Linked DNA regions of Homo sapiens: region 1 is linked to region 2. The links are contacts of gene promoters, found by promoter capture Hi-C in human tissues and cell types (Jung and others, 2019). All regions are on one chromosome and are shown on one strand. The core of a region is centred on a gene start or on the middle of the fragment in contact, and the rest is flanking DNA. Distances in the headings are between cores, read along the strand shown.

What was found. Contacts are between HindIII fragments. The study calls those that stand out against the background at their distance.
Region 1: a contact is called between the fragment with the promoter of FAM151B here and a fragment that was not itself captured in region 2, in 1 of the 25 tissues and cell types used here (liver).

What each region holds. Positions count from the first base shown.
Region 1 is chr5:80,486,780-80,490,173 of GRCh38, reverse strand. It overlaps FAM151B (family with sequence similarity 151 member B), which reads right to left and starts at 2,074. Exons shown (of 6, transcript NM_205548.3): 1 at 2,026-2,074. The coding sequence starts at 2,050. FAM151B-DT (FAM151B divergent transcript) reads left to right here and starts at 2,228. Exons shown (of 3, transcript NR_172938.1): 1 at 2,228-2,396. RefSeq lists a silencer at 1,510-1,804 and enhancers at 1,469-1,968, 1,969-2,470. The HindIII fragment of the contact is 21,804 bases long and covers 1-3,394 here.
Region 2 is chr5:80,266,372-80,269,636 of GRCh38, reverse strand. No RefSeq gene overlaps it. Among named protein-coding and RNA genes, the nearest start is that of SERINC5, 12 kb to the right of the region's middle. The HindIII fragment of the contact is 8,436 bases long and covers 1-3,265 here.

The DNA.
Region 1 (3,394 bases), core at 825-3,324, 220 kb before region 2:
TCAAGCGATCCTCCTGCCTTTCAAAGTGTTCAGATTACAGGCGTAAACCACCACGCCCGGCCAGGACGGAACTTTTCACTATACATCCTATTGTGCCTTTTGAACTTTTTTATGTTGAGAATGTGTGTGTGTGTGTGTGTGTGTGTGTGTGTGTAAGGGGGAAAAATGACATATAACGGAAGAATCTGGTTAAGAATTAGTTTTATCAATAACTCGGTAATGAGAAGAAATTTTTGTTTTTGTTTTTGTTTTGAGACAGTTTCTCTCTGTTGCTCAGGCTGGAGTGCAGTGGCGCAATCTTGGCTCACCGCAAGCTCCGCCTCCCGGGTTCACGCCATTCTGCTGCCTCAGCCTCCTTAGTAGTTGAGACTACAGGCGCCGCCACCACGCCCGGCTAATTATTTTGGATTTTTAGTAGAGACGAGGTTTCACTGTGTTAGCCAGGATGGTCTTGATCTCCTGACCTCGTGATCCGCCCACCTCGGCCTCCCAAAGTGCTGGGATTACGGGCGTGAGTCACCGCGCCCGGCCCAAAAATTTGTTTTTTAAAAAATGGCATTTGTCAGCAATTGGACATTTTTCACTTGTGCACACATTTTATTCCAAGATTTTGTAAACCTTGCATCGATTCAGAAGAGAATCTGGATTTATACAGCCTGTGAGTGAGAATGGTGTAAGTCTTGAGTGTGAGCTTTGTCCCAGATTTGTTTGGATTCTTAGGAAAACTAGGCATTAAAAGGATTTATACTGAGAAGAGCACAAGGGTTAAAAAAGGAAAACTCTGGTCTGAAAAAATGTTCTACGGAGGTTTAGCACAGATCTTAAAAAAGAGAGAGAGAAAAAAGTTCACATCCTTTGATCCAGTAATTTCAGTTACAAGAATCGTGTCCAGGATAAAAACAAACCAAAAACATAACTGAGGAAGAACAATGCAAAAATGTTCATTACAGAATGAATTCTAACAAAACAAAACAAAACAGGAAACGACTGATTAACGTTCAACATTAGGAGACTGGTTAATTACAATATAATTGTATACAATATAATTGTATAAAACACTTCAGTCATTCAAAATTATGTTTATAAAAACCTTGGTGACATGGGATAGTATAAGATGCAGGATTTTAAAAATTATGTTTACCATGACCTTAACTCTATTTTTAAGAGTCAGGGTTGTTAGAAAATACCAAAAAGTTAGTAGTGGTGCCTGTGGGTATCAGCATTTGGGGGATTTTTTTTTCCTATTTCCCTATACTAATATACTTTATAAATGTTCTATAATGGCATTTATCAGGACCTGGACATTTTTCGCTTACACACACATTTTATTCCAAGATTCTGTAAACTGTGCATCGATTCAGAAGAGAACCTGTATTTATACAGCCTGCTAGTCAGAATGGTGAAAGCGTGTATTATTTTTACAATTAGGGAAAAAAATCTAAACTGAAGAAAGAACGCGTCACTGACGTTGTCTCATGCCACTACTTAAGTTTACAGAAAAGATACTGTAACCTTCAAGAGCGGAACTGCTGTCCCGCGAGTTGAAGCACCTGATTCCAAGGGGAATCAAGCGAGCCGCACACTCTGCCAGCTTTCCAGGCAGCGCGCTCAGCAGCGGGACTATGCCGGGCCCGGCCCAGTCCGCATTCCCAAACCTCCCCCAGCTTTCAAAGAGGAACCTACTGACCCAGACCGCCCCCATACGGTCGGCTGAAATTAAGGATTAGGGAAACGTCACATTCCTTTCTTTCCAACCCAGACCTCAAAAGACACTGACCCTGCCATTCTCGACCTCCCCTAACGCCTGTCCCTTAGAGCCCACCCGGCAAACCAAGGTCCTTGCCAGGCGATCGCGGGCGCGCCCCGAGTGCAGAGCGGGCTCCAAGCCCAGCCGCCCGGTTCTGCGCGGCGCGCTCCCAGGTCCCTAGCAAGGAAGACCGCGGGAGCCCGCAAAGGGAGGGTACGGCCGGCGGAGCCTCTCAAAGCGCCCCACCTCCAGGCAGAGGCCGCGCGCTCGGCGCTTACCTGGGCCTCCAGCGGATGCTGCCATGGTGACGACGCCCGCCGTCCGCGCAGGCGCCCAGGCTGGCGCCCCTGCTAACCGGGCACTGGTGGCAGGGAAATTCGACTCCACAAACCACAGGCCTCGGCGGGGGAAGAGCCCGGCGGGCGCCAGCGAAGCGGAACCAAACGGAGCCGCGGCACGCAGGCGCAAAGGCTGGCGTTCGAGGTTCGTTTACGCGCCGCTTCGCCGTGCAGGTGGTGGCGAAGCGCTCCTCCGAAAGGTTTCGGAAGCTGGTGGTAGCTCTGAAGATAACGCTGCGTTAGGGCATACTGCGGCGGAGGATGGAACTCCGATTGAAAGCAGTTGCTGGAGTGGAGCACGAATTTCAACAGTTGGGTATATTTTCTTTTAAATGTTAGTAATATCCTAAAAGGGTGTGGAATCATTACTGATAAAAATCAGTGTTTCTGGCCGGGCACGGTGGCTCAGGCCTGTACTCCCAGCACTTTGGGAGGTCGAGGTGGGCGGATCACTTGAGGTCAGGAATTCGAGACCATCCTGGCCAACATGGTTAAAACCCGTCCTTACTGAAAATTTAAAAAATTATCCTGGCGTGGTGGCGCGCGCCTGTAATCCCAGCTACTCGGGAGGCTGAGGCACAAGAATGGCTTGAACCGGAGAGGTGGAGGTTGCAGAGAGCCGAGATCGCTCCACTGCGCTCCGGTCTGTGCGATAGAGCTAGACTGTCAAATAAATAAATAAATAAATAAATAAGTTTTTGTACAAAGTTACCGAGCTGATAACTTGAAGTTTTCTCTCCCCTTCTGTCTCTCTACCAGTGTTCACTCAGAAAACGCTCTCAGCAACTGGGTCCTCCCATCCACTGTCTTTCTAGCCCTCCTTAACTCATTACTTTTTGAAGCCAAACTAGTGATCAGAATTAACAACAAAGCTCTGCCATTTTCAGCTTCTGTGACCAAAAAACTCAATCTGCCAGTGGTAGAGTTAGGATAACTAACATCACCTGACACGTAATACAAAGGGGAGTTATTCTTGCCCAGCCTTTCAGATAAAATATTTTTCATCACTCCAAAGCAATCACTCTCCATTTACCCCCTTCCTACCCCCAGGCAACAACTCATCTACTTTCTGTCTCATGAATTTGCCTATTCTGGAATTTCATGTAAATAGAATCACAGACTGTATGTATGATCTTTGTAACTGGCTTCTTTCACTTAGCATGTTTTCAAAATTCACCCATGTTTTAGCATGTATCAGTACTTCCTTCCTTCTTATGCTGGAATAAATTCCAGTTTGTAAATACCACATTTTATGTGTGTCCATTCAACAGCTGAAGGACATTCGGGTTGTTTCTACATTTTGTCTTTT
Region 2 (3,265 bases), core at 528-3,027:
AAAAACAACATTTATTCTTGCCTTCAGTTTGTAGAATTAGCATGGAAAAAAAAAACACAAAAAGAAAATATCCAAAATTATTGATTGAGTAATGTCATTCAATAAATGCATACTTTTTCTTTTTTTTCAAGAAGTTGTTTCTAAACTTCTCATTTGGACTTCAGAGTCATTAACTTTCTTCATTGAGTGTTTTCTCCCTTTTCATTAAAGAGGGAAACAAAATGAAATGGTTTATGAACATTTTCTTATCATCTTCTCTCAGCCATTTAAAATTCTCCTTCTGTTGAATCTAAATGTTCTGTAACTGAAATCCCATTATGAATAAATAGGCTGGACTGTCTTCCTGTGAAACCTCAGGGAGCTCCTTCCGCCTTTCTAACCTTCATAGAACAATGTAAACATCTTCCAAGTGAAACCCGCAATGAAGGCCTTTTGTTGATTTTCATGGAACTATATGGTTGCACAGGCAGTTAGCTGGCGGTGGTTATTTTAAAACCAAGCACCTCCAAAGAGAGTTTACTTCAAAGTATGCATCTTATAAAGTGAATTTAAAAGAAACTGACAGGAGTCCTCTCTTTAAATACACGTTAAAAAGATAAGTCAACACACAGTGCTGTTATTTGAAGAAATGGGCTTACCTCTTGTACTTCCTCTCAGGAAATTAATTAGAATGGATTAACCAAGAAAACTGAAAAGAGAGACTTGTCTCGCCTTTGTGTGTTTTTTTCTTTCCCCTCTCAGCCTCAAACATAGCTGAATGTGTTTACTTGAAATCAGGATGTGGAAAGTTTTTTGAATTGATTTTAAAACCAAAGAAGCCAGAATAATTTTCCATGGTATTCAGAATCACAGGAATGAGCTCTGTTCAGAAATGGTTTTTGGGTTTTTTTTGAGACGGAGTCTCGCTCTGTCGCCCAGGCTGGAGTGCAGTGGCGTGAACTCGGCTCACTGCAACCTCCGCCTCCTGGGTTCACGCCATTCTCCTGCCTCAGCCTCCCGAGTAGCTGGGACTACAGGCACCCGCCACCACGCCCGGCTAATTTTTTGTATTTTTTGGTAGAGACGGGGTTTCACCGTATTAGCTAGGGCGGTCTCGATTTCCTGACCTCGTGATCCGCCCGCCTCGGCCTCCCAAAGTGCTGGGATTACAGGCATGAGCCACTGCGCCCGGCCCAGAAATGTTTTTTAAATTTTATAATAAAGTTGAATAGTGACTATAATAATTTACACAAATATTTATTTCTAAGTGAAGAAAATGGAGACTTTAAAAAAAATTCAAAGATTATTATGTATTTTACTTAAGGAGGCAAAGCCTCTCTAAATAGTTTTCATATATATGAAAAATATATAATATATATTATATATTTTGAGACAGGGTATCTCTCTGTCACCCAGATTGAAGGGTAGTGGCATGATCCTAGCTCACTGCCGCCTCCTGTGAGTTCAAGCCTCCTGTGAGCTCAAGCGATATTCCTGCCTCAGCCTCCTGCATAGCTGAGACTACAGGCATGCACCACCACACTCTAATTTTTAAATTTTTTTGTAGAGACAGACAAGGTCTCACTATGTTGCCCAGGCTGGTCTGGAACTCCTGAGCTCAAGCCATCATCCTACCTCGGCCTCCCAAAGTGCTGGGATACACGCGTGAGCCACTGTGCCGAGTCCAGTTGCCTTCACACAAAGGATTATAACTCAAAATCTGAGTGTACCTGATTCAACTTACAAAAATATATCAAGAGTAGTCTCCTAATCTAAGAGGACTTAAAAAATTAATTTGTGGCCGGGCGTGGTGGCTCACGCCTGTAATCCCAGCACTTTGGGAGGCCGAGGCGGGCGGATCACAAGGTCAGGAAATCGAGACCATCCTGGTTAACACGGTGAAACCCCGTCTCTATTAAAAATACAAAAAATTAGCCGGGCGCTGTCGTGGGCGTCTGTAGTCCCAGCTACTCGGGAGGTTGAGGCAGGAGACTGGCGTGAACCCAGGAGGCAGAGCTTGCAGTGAGCCGAGATCGCACCACTGCACTCTGGCCTGGGCGAAAGGGCGAGACTGTGTCACAAAAAAAAAAAAAAAAAATTAATTTGTTCCCAGAAAGATTGAACGGGGCTGCAAAACCTGTTGAGCAACTCTCTACTGTCTTCATTAATTTGGAATTTGGGTTCCCTGGGGTGTGTAAAGGAGATTTTCCTTTGTACTATCTACACTCAAAGAACTTGCCATGCAAATTATTAATGTGAAAGGCATTAAGGGGAGAATCTTTAAGATACTAAGGCAAAACTGTTTTTTTTGTTTTTTTTTTTTGAGACAGTCTCACTCTGTCGCCCAGGCTGGAGTGCAGTGTCACGATCTTGGCTCACTGCAACCTCCGCCTTCCGGGTTCAAGCGATTCTCCTGCCTCAGCCTCCCAAGCAGCTGGGACTACAGGCGCCCGCCACCATGCCTGGCTAATTTTTGTTTTGTATTTTTAGTAGAGACGGGGTTTCACTATGTTGGCCAGGCTGGTCTCGAACTCCTGATCTCATGATCCGCTAAGCACCATTACAGTGCTTTTAAAGCACCATTTTTAAAACTTTAAAAGCACCATTTAAAACTTTTAAAGCACCATTACAGTGCTGAAGAATCATTAGCTTTCCACACTTACAAACTAACTGATGAGAAGTACAAAAGGATTTCTCTTGTTTCCTTAAGCAGCTCCCCTAAAAATCGTGACCAGGCAATACTTTGCTAGCCTATTATAGTCATTACTAAGAATTAGTAGTTACATTAAATTTTCTTTTTGCCTTTGGATAAACAGTTAAATAGTAAACCATTTTAAGGAGCTACTCCTGTCAAAAGCAGGTGGGAGGCTGCAGGAGGCACCAGTGATCTTGGGTGAGCTGGAGGGGTAGAGCCAAGCCAGAGAGGGATCTGGAGCATGGAGCACCAAGCTTTGTTTTGTAGAAGTTTTAGGACAAAGAAAAGGAGAAAGACGGTAGCTGGGCCAAAGAGAGGTTTGTTGTTTAATTTATGAAAAATCTGACCCAGTTTGTAGCTTGAGAATGATTCAATAGAAAGGAAGACCTGAAAATGCTTGGAAGAGAGGAAATAGGCGAGGTGATGGAATTAAAGGTAGATTGAAGGCAAAATTAAGAGATTAATGTTAACAAGAAAAATGAACAATTTTTAATCCTAGCACTTTGGGAGGCTGAGGCGGGTGGATCACCTGAGGTTGGGAGTTCAAGACCAGCCTGACCAACATGGATAAACCCCGTCTCTACTAAAATT